2 separate regions of the Homo sapiens genome follow, and region 2 is linked to region 1. Evidence: promoter capture Hi-C in 16 types of primary human blood cells and fetal thymus (Javierre and others, 2016). All regions are on one chromosome and are shown on one strand. Each heading gives the region's core, a stretch centred on a gene start or on the middle of the fragment in contact. The rest is flanking DNA. Distances are from core to core; before and after follow the strand shown.

The links. The method cuts DNA at HindIII sites, captures the fragments that hold promoters and counts their contacts. A CHiCAGO score of 5 or more calls a contact.
Region 2: a fragment that was not itself captured here is called in contact with the fragment with the promoter of TUBGCP2 in region 1 in 1 of 17 cell types (M2 macrophages); the score reaches 5.0 in M2 macrophages.

What each region holds. Positions count from the first base shown.
Region 1 is chr10:133,304,395-133,310,934 of GRCh38, reverse strand. It overlaps TUBGCP2 (tubulin gamma complex component 2), which reads left to right and starts at 2,063. Exons shown (of 18, transcript NM_006659.4): 1 at 2,063-2,112. It overlaps ZNF511-PRAP1 (ZNF511-PRAP1 readthrough), which reads right to left and starts at 2,021. Exons shown (of 9, transcript NM_001396060.1): 1 at 1,839-2,021; 2 at 1,472-1,545; 3 at 958-1,159; 4 at 647-771. The coding sequence starts at 1,991. ZNF511 (zinc finger protein 511) reads right to left here and starts at 2,021. Exons shown (of 6, transcript NM_145806.4): 1 at 1,839-2,021; 2 at 1,472-1,545; 3 at 958-1,159; 4 at 647-771. The coding sequence starts at 1,991. RefSeq lists enhancers at 1,536-1,830, 1,238-1,933, 2,657-2,886 and a silencer at 1,577-2,426. The HindIII fragment of the contact is 14,798 bases long and covers 1-4,985 here.
Region 2 is chr10:132,928,175-132,934,847 of GRCh38, reverse strand. CFAP46 (cilia and flagella associated protein 46) reads left to right here. Exons shown (of 58, transcript NM_001200049.3): 8 at 1-96; 9 at 5,044-5,143. Among named protein-coding and RNA genes, the nearest start is that of CFAP46, 11 kb to the left of the region's middle. RefSeq lists enhancers at 2,846-2,915, 4,375-4,494. The HindIII fragment of the contact is 5,297 bases long and covers 680-5,976 here.

The DNA of each region.
Region 1 (6,540 bases), core at 814-3,313:
AGCACTTTAGGAGGCTGAAGTGGGAGAATCGCTTGAGCCTGAGAAGTGGAGGTTGCAGTGAACCTACATCACACCACTACACTCCAGCCTGGGTGTCAGAGCAAGACCCTGTCTCAAAAAAAAAAAAAGATTGTTCCTGGAAGTATTTCCCAGAGTGCACTCTAGGCAGGAACATGTTAATCAACAGCTTTGTCATCAAGTTCATATGCGCACAACCAACCAGGACAAAAGGAAAGCCAGGGCTGCATGATGTGTGAGCACGGCCGACGGCTGCAGGAGGTACAGACACGGCCCCGAGGGGTGTGAGTGCGGATGACCACGGCCGACTGCTGCAGGAGGTACAGGCATGGCCCAGAGGGGTGTGAGTGCGGAGGCGCTGCGCCCGCTCATTCCCACACCCCCTCTGCTGCCTCCACCGGCACAGAGCTGGGCAGCCAGGGGCTCCCCTCCAGCCTCCCTTCGGCAGGGTGGCCGCTGGCACAACCACCTGTAGCTGTGTTGCCAGGGCTTCAGGTACCTGCAGGTGAACACCCCATTAGGTGACACACAAGTGCTTAATAAGTCTGACCGTCTATGCATTCCGGCTAGTTGGAAACCTTTTCCTAAAATCAAAAGCAGACACGTGCTGAGCCTGGCGGCTCCCTACCTTCTGCTTTTCTTTGGCTTATCAAACCGGAAGTCCGCGGGGTACAGGTGCATCCTCACCATGTGATCCTTCCGGTCTCTGCTGGTCTTGAACTTCTCTGTGCAGCCTTCTACCAAGCACTGATACTGAAATGGAGACCGTGTCACCTCCCTCTGACCCCTGGCCCTCCCCCACCGCCATGCCCCCGTAGCAGAGCTGCCAAGGGCGGAAAGGTGTCCCCGGCCTTGCCCGAGCACCCGAGAGCTGGGGGCAGCACTCTGAGCCCATCACCAATGGGGGGTGGCCTCGGCGGCTGTGCAGTTGTCACCCACCATGTCCTGCCTCTCAGACAGGATCTGGAAGAGCGAATCGTGCCACTCCAGGATGTGGGCGTCCAGCAGGTGTCCGGAAGGGAAGGCCCGCTTGCAAAAGGAGCAAACATTTCCGTGCAGCGTGTGGTAGTGGTGCTCGTAGTCGTCCAGGGCATCGAACACCTGGCAGCAGCCGGCCACCTGGCAGGCAAACGCGGGCACCCTGCCAAGGAGACGTGCTTCAGGAGCCCTTCCTCCGGTGCGAGGAACCAAGCTGGACTTTCTGCACAGTTTCCCTTTGAGACGTCCAATAAAGCCCCTATGCATCTTTTGCAATCCCAAACCCTCTTTTTATGAATTAAGTTTCACAAACAGGCTAGGTGGTGGAAGAGTCGGCCACGCCAAAGCTGGACAGGCACAGCGCCTCGGTGGGGCGGCCGCACATGGAAGAGCGGCAGCACAGCCCCAGGGACCAGGCACCGGTCAGGGAGGCGGCGCAGGAGTAGCACTGGCTAGGCACTGCCCATTCGCTTACCTGGGCTTCTCAGGCACGTCGGCCACCTGCATGATCACGTCCTGGAGGTAGAGGTGGCGCTGCACGTCCCCATCCTGCAGGAAAAGTGCGCCGTGGGCGGGGCCAGGTGACTCGCGGCACGCCCACCGCGTCAGGCCTCGCCCACACCCGTGGCCCCAGTCATCCCGCGCTCCGGTCCCGCCCCACAGCCTCAGGCCCCGCCCACTCCACGTTCCGGCCCCGCCCCACCACCTCAGGTCCCGCCTGTCCCAGGCTCCGGCCCCGCCCCGCAGTCGTAGGCCCCTCCCACTCCAGGCTCCGGCCCCGCCTCGCCGCCGTAGGCCCCACTGGATCCTACAACTACTTTTTCCCTCTTTTGCTCACGCACCTCGAAGAACTGGTGCTCCCGCGGGAAGCGCACGGGGCGCGCAACGAAGCGAAAGGGCGCGGCCCCAGCCGCGGGATCCCGCTCTACAGGCAGCGGCTCCGCCGCCCCGGGCCCCGCAGCGAGGCGGGCGCACAGCGCGGGGGGCAACTGCATCACCCCGGGCGCGGGCGGGCGCAGCCTGTCGGCCACCGTCCGCGAGCCGAGCCGGACGTGACGTCACGCTCACTTCCGCCGCCGTCGGGGGCTGCGCGGGGGCTGTGGCTCCGGGACTGCGGTGAGTCCTGGCCGAACGCGGGCGCGGGCGTGATGAGGGGGTTGGGGGACTGCCAGGCCCGGGGGGGCCCACGAGGCGACGGGGCTGGCGGGACGCGGCTCTTCCCGCGCGCTCCCTCTGGCTGTGCAGCGGTCCCCGAACTCTGGGGCCGAAGCCCTTCGGGCCTGCACCGGCCAGGCCAGCGTCTTGCCCCGCGGCCCGACACTCAGCCGGGGCGGGGCGGAGCGGGCCTCCGGGTCGTCCCGGGTGTCCCCTCCCAGCCCTGGGAAGCCGGGTCGCAGGTCCCCCTCTCGCACGCCCTCTCCCGTCCGCCTTGCCCCGCCTGTCGTCTCCCGCTGCAGTCCCTGGATCTTGTTCCCTCTAAACCAGTCGCGAACTGGAGCCAAAGTGACTCCAGTTTTATTGTAACCGTTTTTAATTTAAAGCCCTTGGGTGACTTCCCGTTACTTTAGTTCAAAGGCCCTTTCCTGGTTTGTCGGGGTCCTGTCGACCTCTCCAGTCCCCGCAGCTCCCGTGAAACACAGGACCTGTGCTAGGTGCTCAGGGCGTGTGGGGGAAGGCATCACAGGAGGGCGCGGCAGCCTTGTAGGAGAGACAGACGTCAGAGTAAAGAGTCACCTAATTAAAATGGTGAATGACAACACACGCGGGAAGCAGTGGACGCTTCAGATCTACTGCAGAGAATGGGCCCAGTGGCGGATAGAGGCTTTAGCTTTCTCGTCTGTCACCCAGGCTGGAGTGCAATGGTGCGATCATAGCTGATAGATCGCTGCGGCCTCAAATTCTTGGGCTCAAGTGGTCCTGCTGCCTCAGCGTTCCAAAGAGCTGTAACTGCAGGCGTGAGCCACCATGCCTGCCCCTGTACTTTTTCCATGTTTAGATACACAAATATCTCTGTGTTACAGTTGTCTAGTGTTCAGCACCGCCACCTGCTGGGCAGGTTTGTAGCCCACGAGCAAGAGGCTCCTCTAGGTGGTTTAGGTGCATTGTAGGCCGTACACCATCCAGGTCTGCGAGTGACTCTGATGATCGCACAGAAGGAAATCATGTAACCATACGTTTCTCTTTTTTTCTTTTGGAGATAGTGTCTCTCTCTGTCGCTCAGGCTGGAGTGCAGTGGCGCGATCTGGGCTCACTGCAACCTCTGCCTGCTGGGTTCAAGCGATTCTCGTGCCTCAGCTTCCCAAGTAGCTGGGATTACAAGTGTGCGCCACCAGGCTTGGCCAATTTTTGTATTTTTGGTAGAGACTGGTTTTCACCATGTTGGCCAGGCATTTCTCAGAATGTTGAGTGATGCATGACTGTACTTTCTGTCTCTGTAAAAGCCTTTGGGCTCTTGACATTTTCCACAAGTTGTAAAATAACATTTTTCAAACCAATTTGTACAGTTAGCTTTGAGCTCTCAACAGAGACTCTTTTTCACGTCCCTCTGTGTTTTAATCACTTGGAGTGTGTGCTCACTAGGAGTGTGTGCCCCGCTTGTCCGTGGTGGAGTGTGACATGCGTGCATTGCTTCCCTCAGCACGCGTCCCTGCGGTAGCTCACAGCCTCTGTGAGGAGGACGTCAGTCCCTCCCAGTCACAGTTGCTGGGCCTGTCAGTTTGTGTGATTAATAGTAAGAATTCAGGAGCATCAAGAAGGCCAAGTCAGCGGCCATGGCTAGACGTTCCTCCAAGAAGCAGCCACGGCTAGATGTTCCTCAGAGCTGTGTTTTCAGTGGGACGCTGTGCATTTCTGGCGGGACAGCTCTGTTGATGATTAGCATCCCCCGCCCTTGCCCTCTAAGTAGCGAGAGCACCCTTCCATGACCGTGACACCCCAGAGTTGCCCTAGGACTTTTCCAAAGGTCTTCTGGGGGGAGGGACTCTGTGCGAGTACGGGCTGCCCTCTTGGAGGCCCGGTCCCCACATTCAGGGAGAGCAGCAGGCTCCTCATGGGATGAACACTCATGACGTGCGGGCATCTGTGCTTCTATTTCTAGAAGAGATACGAAGTTTCCTGAAGGTAGTTTTTATTTTTTTTATTATTATTTTTTGAGACAGAGTCTCGCTCTGTTGCCCAGGCTGGAATGCAGTGGTGTGATCTTGGCTCACTGCAAGCTCCGCCTCTCGGGTTCATGCCATTCTCCTGCCCCAGCCTCTGGAGTATCTGCGACTACAAGCGCCCGCCACCACCCCCGGCTAATTTTTTTGTATTTTTAGTAGAGATGGGGTTTCACCATGTTAGCCAGGATGGTCTCGATCTCCTGACCTCATGATCCGCCCACCTTGGCTTCCCAAAGTGCTGAGATTACAGGCGTGAGCCACCGTGCCCAGCATGTAGTTTTTAAATAAATACTCAGATGATTTTTCTTCATAGGTAGCTTTCTCTCCTGACTTGTGTCTGGTGGGGGAGTGCTTTGTTTTGGTGGCAAATGGTTTTCTTGCCACCTAGCATGACCAAAGTGTTTCTCAGACCAGCAGTTATAGGACAACCTGCAGTCCTCGGGGAGCCGAGTAGAATGTGGGTGAAACAGGCCACCCTTGGATTTGAAGGGGCCGCTGGCCGGAAAGTTTGGGCTGTCTTTTCTGCTTCACAAGTAGTTTGCAGGGCCTCGTCCAGGGCTCCCATGACTGTTAAAAAAGCATCTGGTAGTTTAAGATGTTGTCAGTGATTGGGACCCAATTTTCCTTTTGTAAACCTAACCATTTCCCAGATAACAGAGTTAACACCTCCAGGGAGCAATGGTGCCGCATGTTTGTTTCTGCTTTCCTGGTAACAACAGTGTAAGAACTTACCACGTATGGGCCCTTCTGTGCTTTCTCAGGGTGATTTCACTTCTCTCTACCACAGCTCTACGCAGGACCTAGGGCTTCCCCTTTTCAGAAGAAGCTTGGAGAGGACGTGTCCTTGTTCAGGGTCCCACAGCCTAGAAGTAGCCACGTCAGTGTCCAGACTGCATGGGGCTCCATGGCGCGTGCCCTGCTGGCCTTGTGCTTGAACTGTAGTTACCGTGAGCACCTCCTGGGTCAAAAGCATGTGTGTGAGCAACTCAGCACCATGCCTTCTTATCGCTCTCCTTCCATTTTCGGAGATACCCTGCCTGTGACCAGTATTTGATGTTCATCTACAGATAAACTGTCTTCCATCACACAGGATTAGAATCTCGGTGTCGAGTCCCGTGCTAATAATCGTTAGTGAATTAGCATATTGTGGGAGTATGTGCTGAGTCTTCTGTACTCTATTGTAGGGACCAGCCCCACAGGGTCGGTGGGTTTTTCTCCTCGTGTGCGGAGATGAGAGATTGTAAAAATAAAGACGCAAGACAAAGAGATAAAAGAAAAGACAGCGGGCCCGGGGAACCACTACCACCAAGACGCAGAGACCGGTAGTGGCCCCGAATGCCTGGCTGCGCTGTTATTTATTGGATACAAAGCAAAAGGGGCAGGGTAAAGAGTGTGAGTCATCTCCAATGATTGATAAGGTCATGTGTGTCATGTGTCCACCAGACATGGGGCCCTTCCCTGTTACGTAGCCGAGGCGGAGAGAGAGAGGACAGCTTATGTCATTATTTCTTCTATGTTCTTTTCAGAAAGATCAAAGACTTTAATACTTTCACTAATTTTGCTACTGCTATCTAGAGGGCGGAGCCAGGTGTACGGGATGGAACATGAGAGCAGACCAGGAGTGTGACCGCTGAAGCACAGCATCACAGGGAGACAGTCAGGCCTCCGGATAACTGCGGGCGGGCCTGACTGATGTCAGGCCCTCCACAAGAGTTGGAGGCGTAGAGTCTTCTCTAAACTCTCCGGGGAAAGGGAGACTCCCTTTCCCGGTCTGCTAAGTAGCGGGTGTTTTTCCTTGACACTGACACTACCGCTAGACCAAGGTCCGCTTGGCAAGGGGCATCTTCCCAGACGCTGGCATCACCGCTAGACCAAGGAGCCCTCTGGTGGCCCTGTCCGGGCATGACAGAAGGCTCACATTCTTGTCTTCTGGTCACTTCTCACTATGTCCCCTCAGCTCCTATCTCTGTATGGCCTGGTTTTTCCTAGGTTATGATTGTAGAGCAAGGATTATTATAATATTGGAATAAAGAGTAATTGCTACAAACTGATGATTAATGATATTCATATATAATCATATCTATGATCTAGATCTAGCATAACTCTTGTTGTTTTATATATTTTGTTACACTGGAACAGCTCGTGCCCTCGGTCTCTTGCCTCGGCACCTGGGTGGCTTGCCGCCCACACTCGATGTTTTGTTGAGCTCATCCTTGTCTCCCTGAAGCTGTCAGCAGAGTGGTTGTTTACCTTTTTTGGGTCATAGAGCCTTTGAGAATTTGTTGAAGGGTCATCTCCTCAGAAAATAAAAAGTTATTTTGCCCATAACTTTCAAGGGCTCATCTGTTACTGATTACTCATGGATACCGGCTTAAGAACCCTT
Region 2 (6,673 bases), core at 2,079-4,578, 380 kb after region 1:
TGATTTACCAGGTGACATCAGTGTCATTCTGAGGAAGGCCTACAGACACTTAGGTCATTACAACCACCAGCGCTTTCCCTCTATCAGTGAAGAAAAGTAAGTGTTTGTATTTTTCCAATATCACATCTTCATAATCGTTGTACAAAATTTAGCAGGCACTGAAAAATGTGAAAAAATGTAAAACAAGCAACTAGAACCACCTTTGCAAAAGCCAGCCATTGTGGAGGTTTTAGTAAGGTCCTGTCTGGTCTTTTGTGGCCTGAGATTTGTACTGTCTTGCGAATACTTTCATACCCTACTTTTTAACATGAGTTTAGTTTGTAGGCATATGGATGGTTAGGTCACTGTGGCACCTCTCACGGTTCTGGTGGCTGCGTGGCGTTCCATGGGTGGGAAAACACAGGTTTCTCTGGAGCCTTTTTCAGGCTGGTTTGTTTGGATTCTGTGCTTTCTCGAATCCTCCAGGCACTGTTGAGAGTTTGGGATAAGTCCTGGGCTGGTATCCTGGAAGCAGGAAGCTGAGCCCGAGGCTTTCAGAAGCACATGGAAAGCACTGGCTGGTTTTGCCTTCGTGGGCACGGGGTGGGTGGGGGGGTTTGTCCCCTGCCCCTGGAGCGATTTTGTCACCTCCTTAGTAGCACTGTGTATATTTTTAAGAAAATGGGAAACAAGTAAAGCTTGTTGATATGGGAGGCTGAAATTATCTGTTTGGTTTTCTGGTGGCCATGGGAAACTAACAGAGAAGGTGTATTAGTTATCTGCAGCTGCGTAACAAGTACCCACAAACTTAGGAGCTTGAAACAACACAGGTCCATGACCTCACCGTGTCTGCGGTTCAGGTACCCGGGCACAGGTCCATGACCTCGCTGTGTCTGCGGGATGGGAACCTGGGCACAGATCCATGACCTCCCTGTGTCTGTGGGACGGGAACCTGGGCACAGCAGCAGCCACAGTGTTGACTGGTCTGGGGTCTTTTCTCGAGGCTGGACTGGGGAAGGGGTCCCCCAAGCTCACAGGGGTGTTGAGAGGACTCGGTTCCTGTGGGTTCAGGCCTCGGTCCTGGTGGGACAGCTTGCTTCATCAGTGCTAGCGAGGGGCGCCAGACGCCAGCACGTTCGTGGTCTCATCAGGGAGGTGGCACCTGCCCAACATTGAGGTCTCCGCTGCTCAGCTGCAGGCTCCTCGAGGGAGGGGCCCCAGGACCGCAGGGTGGCTGCTGGGCCACAGCCTGGGCCGCAGGGGCACAGGGCCAGCCTGCTGGTGGGTCTGTTTTTGGGAGGGGTATGAGTGCATGTGTACATGGGGATGTGTGTGGATATATTGTTCTGGAAGGAGTTTACGTCTTCCATCAGACCCTCCAGGTTGTTCTAACTGAAGTCCGGCCAAGCGTGGCCGTGGCCCTGGCCGAGCATCCCCTTCTGTGGCCAGGCGCTCCGACGAGAGGTCTTGGGACCAGTGTAAATAGCCCTGTTCCGAGGTCTGTCCACAGGCGGCATTCTCAGGCACTTTTACGGATTCTCTCTTCCCGACCTGCCCAGCAGGCCTGTGCGCTGGAGCTCAGGTAGGACGGAGAGGCCAGTGTTGTGATGCCAGGCCTGCCAGGACCTGAGAGGGCCCAACAGCAGAGCAGGGGGAGGAGGAGGTGGGCAGGGACGAGGGGCGGAGAAGCGTCCGCACCCCACCCCAAAGCAGCCTCCTGCCCACAGCTACCCAGGGATGCAGGGAGGATGGTCACACCACACTGAGGGCCGAGTTGAGTCGCTGCCAGCAGCCGCCAATTGTGTTCCCGGTAAGACTGTGATTACTCCCCGGGAAACAGCAGAAGACATGTAGACCTGCTCCCCAAGGACATTTGGCAATGTCTGGAGACACTGTGGGCGGCTGCTCTTCATCTAGCGGGCAGCTGCAGGGACACAATGGACAGGCTCCTCCTGGAAGAGAGGCGTCCCGGAGGGAAACCCTGGCCTAATCTCCACCGGAGGAGCGTGATCCTGATCCCTGCAGCTCAACAGGAAGCCTTAGAGTGGAGAGCTGAGAGCACCCGCTGTGCTCTTTCTTGAAGTTGTCTGGAGCACTGTGGGTCCTTGCATGTGGATACAAATTTTAGCCTCAGCCTGTCAGTTTCTGCAAAGACCCTGATTGGTGACTGCAGGTGCGGTTGGCGGCACGCCTACGGGCTTGTCGCATGGTAGGAAGGCCCAGGCTCTGTGTGGGGAGCGTGGGGAAGCCCAGGCTCTGTGTGGGGAGGAGGAAGCTGCAGGATCTATGTGGGGAGGAAGAAGGCCCAGGCTCTGTATGGGGAGCGTGGGAAGACCCAGGCCCTGTGTCAGGAGTGTTGGGAAGGTTCAGCCTCTGTGTGAAGAGGTGGAAGGCCTAGGCTCTGTGTGAGGAGTGTGGGGAGGCCCAGGCTCTGTGTGGCGACAAGGAAGGCCCAGCCTCTGTGTGTGGAGGAGGAAGGCCCAGCCTCTGCGTGGGGAGGAGGAAAGCCCAGGCTCTATGTGGGGAATGTGGGGAGGCCCAGGCTCTGTGTGGAGAGGAGGGAGGCCCAGGCTCTGTGTGGAGAGGAGGGAGGCCCAGGCTCTGTGTGGGGAGGAGGAAGGCCCAGGCTCTGTGTGGGGAGTGTAGGGAGACCCAGGCTCTGTGTGAGAAGTGTGAGGAGGCCTAGGCTCTGTGTGAGAAGTGTGGGGAGGCCTAGCCTCTGTGTGGGGAAGGCCCAGGCTCTGTGTGGGGAGGAGGAAGGCCCAGGCTCTGTGTGGGGAGGATGAAGGTCCAGGCTCTGTGTGGGGAGCAGGAAGGCCCAGGCTTTGTGTGAGAAGTCTGGGGAGGCCCAGCCTCTGTGTGGGGAGTGTGGGGAGGCCCAGGCTCTGTGTGGCGACAAGGAAGGCCCAGCCTCTGTGTGTGGAGGAGGAAGGCCCAGCCTCTGCGTGGGGAGGAGGAAAGCCCAGGCTCTATGTGGGGAATGTGGGGAAGGCCCAGGCTCTGTGTGGGGAGTGTAAGGAGGCCCAGGCTCTGTGTGGGGAAGAGGAAGGCCCAGGCTCTGTGTGGGGAGGAGGAAGGTCCAGGCTCTGTGTGGCAAGGAGGAAGGCCCAGGCTCTGCGTGGGGAGTGTGGGGAGGCCCAGGCTCTGTGTGGAGAGGAGGGAGGCCCAGGCTCTGTGTGGGGAGGAAGAAGGCCCAGGCTCTGTGTGGGGAGTGTAGGGAGGCCCAGGCTCTGTGTGAAAAGTGTGGGGAGGCCTAGCCTCTGTATGGGGAAGGCCCAGGCTCTGTGTGGGGAGGAGGAAGGCCCAGGCTCTGTGTGAGAAGTATTGGGAGGCCTAGCCTCTGTGTGGGGAGGGTGGGGAGGCCCAGGCTCTGTGTAGAGAGGAGGAAGGCCCAGGCTCTGTGTGAGGAATGTGGGGAAGGCCCAGTCTCTGAGTGGAGAGTGTGGGGAGGCCCAGGCTCTTTTTGGGGAGGAGGAAGGCCCAGGCTCTGTGTGGGGAGGAGGAAAGCCCAGGCTCTGCGTGGGGAGTGTGGGGAAGGCCCAGGCTCTGCGTGAGGAGTGTGGGGAAGGCCCAGGCTCTGCGTGGGGAGTGTGGGGAAGGCCCAGGCTCTGCGTGGGGAGTGTGGGGAAGGCCCAGGCTCTGTGTGGGGAGTGTGGGGAAGGCCCAGGCTCTGTGTGGGGAGGAGGAAGGCCCAGGCTCTGTGTGGCGAGGAGGAAGGTCCAGGCTCTGCGTGGGGAGTGTGGGGAAGGCCCAGGCTCTGCGTGGGGAGTGTGGGGAGGCCCAGGCTCTGTGTGGAGAGGAGGGAGGCCCAGGCTCTGTGTGGGGAGTGTGGGGAGGCCCAGGTTTTGTTTGTGGAGGAGGAAGGCCCAGGCTCTGTGTGGGGAGTGTAGGGAGGCCCAGGCTCTGTGTGAGAAGTGTGGGGAGGCCTAGCCTCTGTGTGGGGAAGGCCCAGGCTCTGTGTGAGGAGTGTGGGGAAGGCCCAGGCTCTGCGTGGGGAGTGTGGGGAAGGCCCAGGCTCTGTGTGAGGAGTGTGGGGAAGGCCCAGGCTCTGCGTGGGGAGTGTGGGGAAGGCCCAGGCTCTGTGTGGGGAGTGTGGGGAAGGCCCAGGCTCTGTGTGGGGAGGAGGAAGGCCCAGGCTCTGTGTGGCGAGGAGGAAGGTCCAGGCTCTGCGTGGGGAGTGTGGGGAAGGCCCAGGCTCTGCGTGGGGAGTGTGGGGAGGCCCAGGCTCTGTGTGGAGAGGAGGGAGGCCCAGGCTCTGTGTGGGGAGTGTGGGGAGGCCCAGGTTTTGTTTGTGGAGGAGGAAGGCCCAGGCTCTGTGTGCGGAGTGTGGGGAAGGCCCAGGCTCTGTGTGGGGAGGAGGAAGGCCCAGGCTCTGTGTGGGGAGTATGGGGAAGGCCCAGGCTCTGTGTGGAGAGTGTGGGGAAGTCCCAGGCTCTGTGTGGGAAGAAGGAAGGCTCAGGCTCTGTGTGGAGAGTGTAGGGAAGGCCCAGGCTCTGTATGGGGAGGAGGAAGGCCCAGGCTCTGTGTGGGGAGTGTGGGGAGTCCCATGCTCTGTGTGGGGAGGAGGAAGGTTCGGGCTCTGTGTGGGGAGTGTGGGGAGTCCCATGCTCTGTGTGGGGAGGAGGAAGGTTCGGGCTCTGTGTGAAGAGGAACCTGCCTCTTCCCTGCATGGCCTCTGGCCTCGCTGAGCTGCAGATGTGGGTCTGAGCTGCTGTGCAATGCAATGGCTTTGAGTACGCATGTCGTCATCCCTGTGCTTCTCCTGGGTTCTGCACATGACCTGAAGCCTGGAGAGCGAGGAGCAGGGTGTCCAGTAGGGACGTGGCCCTGGGCAGCCTCCACAACTGTGCTGGCCCCGGGAGACTGCTGGGCTCCGGTGCTGTAGCTTGAAGCCCTGCTGGGGCCTCCCCACAGGGCTTCTGTTCTAATTAACTTAATTTTATTTATTTCTTATCCTACCTTTATTTCCTGCTTCTGCTTGAACGGGGGACATGGATTCTCGCCTGCAGCCATGTTTCCTGTGCCCCCTATTGAGCCGGTGCTGGCTGGTTTGTTTGTTTGCAGAATGCTTTTGCTTTTTGAATTGGCGCGTTTTTCCTTGACCTTGAAATGCATGGAGATCTCCTCTGCCTGCCTCTCAGACCTGAAGAAGATGGAAAGCAAAGTAAGTGGCTTCATGACACTGCTGCCTGGGGATGAGGCGCTGCTCACCGTGCAGTTGGACAAAAGGCAAAGAAAGGAAGAGCAGTTCACCAGGCCACGGCCCCCAGGGCTTCGGTCCGTGGTTGGCACATTGCCGTCTTTCCTACCTGTGTTTTGCACAGTTGCAGTTAGATGGTGTTTGCAATTTTACACCTGCCCGTTTCTCTTTACCTTTCTTGTGGCCACGGGTCCACAGCACCACAGTTGTTTCTAGAGTCCAATTTACGGACGGCGTAAAATTTCATGATGCTGATGATCCAGAACATCCTCCACCAGTCCCATTATTGGACGTGTAAATCACACCGGCAGTGCCTCGTTACCCGCAGTTCACTTTCTGCAGTTTGTTACCTGCAGACAGCTACAGTATGAAAATATTAAGCTATTCTGAGGGAGAGGCCACAGCCACATCACTTCTGTTACAGTATAGTGTTATGATTGTATCTTATTATTAGTTATTGTTATAAATATCTTATTGTGCCTAATTTAGAAATTGAAGTTTATCGTAGGGATTTCCGTCTAGAAAAATCACAGTATAATCGGGTTTCGGACTACTCCACGTTTCAGGCCTCCACTGGGTTGGGGGGTCTTGAAACGTATCCTCTCAGAGAAGGGGGGGCTACCGTATAATTTTTTGCTTATTACATAAAGGGCTGCAGTGAACATTTTGTGCCTAAAACATTTTTCTGCGTTTAGGATTTTTCCCTAAGATGAGTATATTTACATGAAATGACTAGGGAATTTTCACTTTTAATATTTTAAGAATACACGTTAGAGTATTGCCCTCCAGAAGAAGCTTCACACAACGACAAGTGTGTAAGACTGCATACATCAGGTTTGCCGATGCTTTCAGGAACTGTGACAGGCTCTTCCACAGAGCAGGGAAAATGTGATCAGTTTATCAGGGATGGTTTTGAGCAAACTGAGTGTCGCTTTACACACAGAGAGTGAAGAAGGGGGACCCTCGGATGCACAGCCACATGCTGGGGCCTCCCTGTGTGCTGTCTTCATTGAGCACTTGCTGTGTGCTTTGCCCAGGTTACCTAAGAGTGAACGTAAACCAACCATCAGTGGCGCAGGAGACACGGCCATGGCTCAGCACGGGGGGAGCCGTCCAGTCACGCTGAGGGCTGTGCTGATCTGGAAATGGTTTCAGAATAGGAGATGCAGTTCACGTGGCCTTGACAGCCAGGCAGCCCTTGGAGGGACCGCCCACCAGGGTGCAGGTGGGAAGCGTGGTCAAGGCTGGAAACAGCAGCCCATGCCGCACGGAGGATGGGAGCAGCGTGGGAGGCTCCTGTGTTTGATGCCCTTTACCGGCTTCTGTGGGCCCCATTTCCATCTTCTGGGTTTTCACGGCACGGTGTCCCCAATTCAGAATGACTATGGAACGCCTGGGTCCGGCCCCACTTCCTCCTTCCCAGCAGCCCTTCCTTCAGCTCCCTGTGCCTCAGGGCTTGTCCCTGCAAAATGGCAGCAGTAACAGGACCCATCT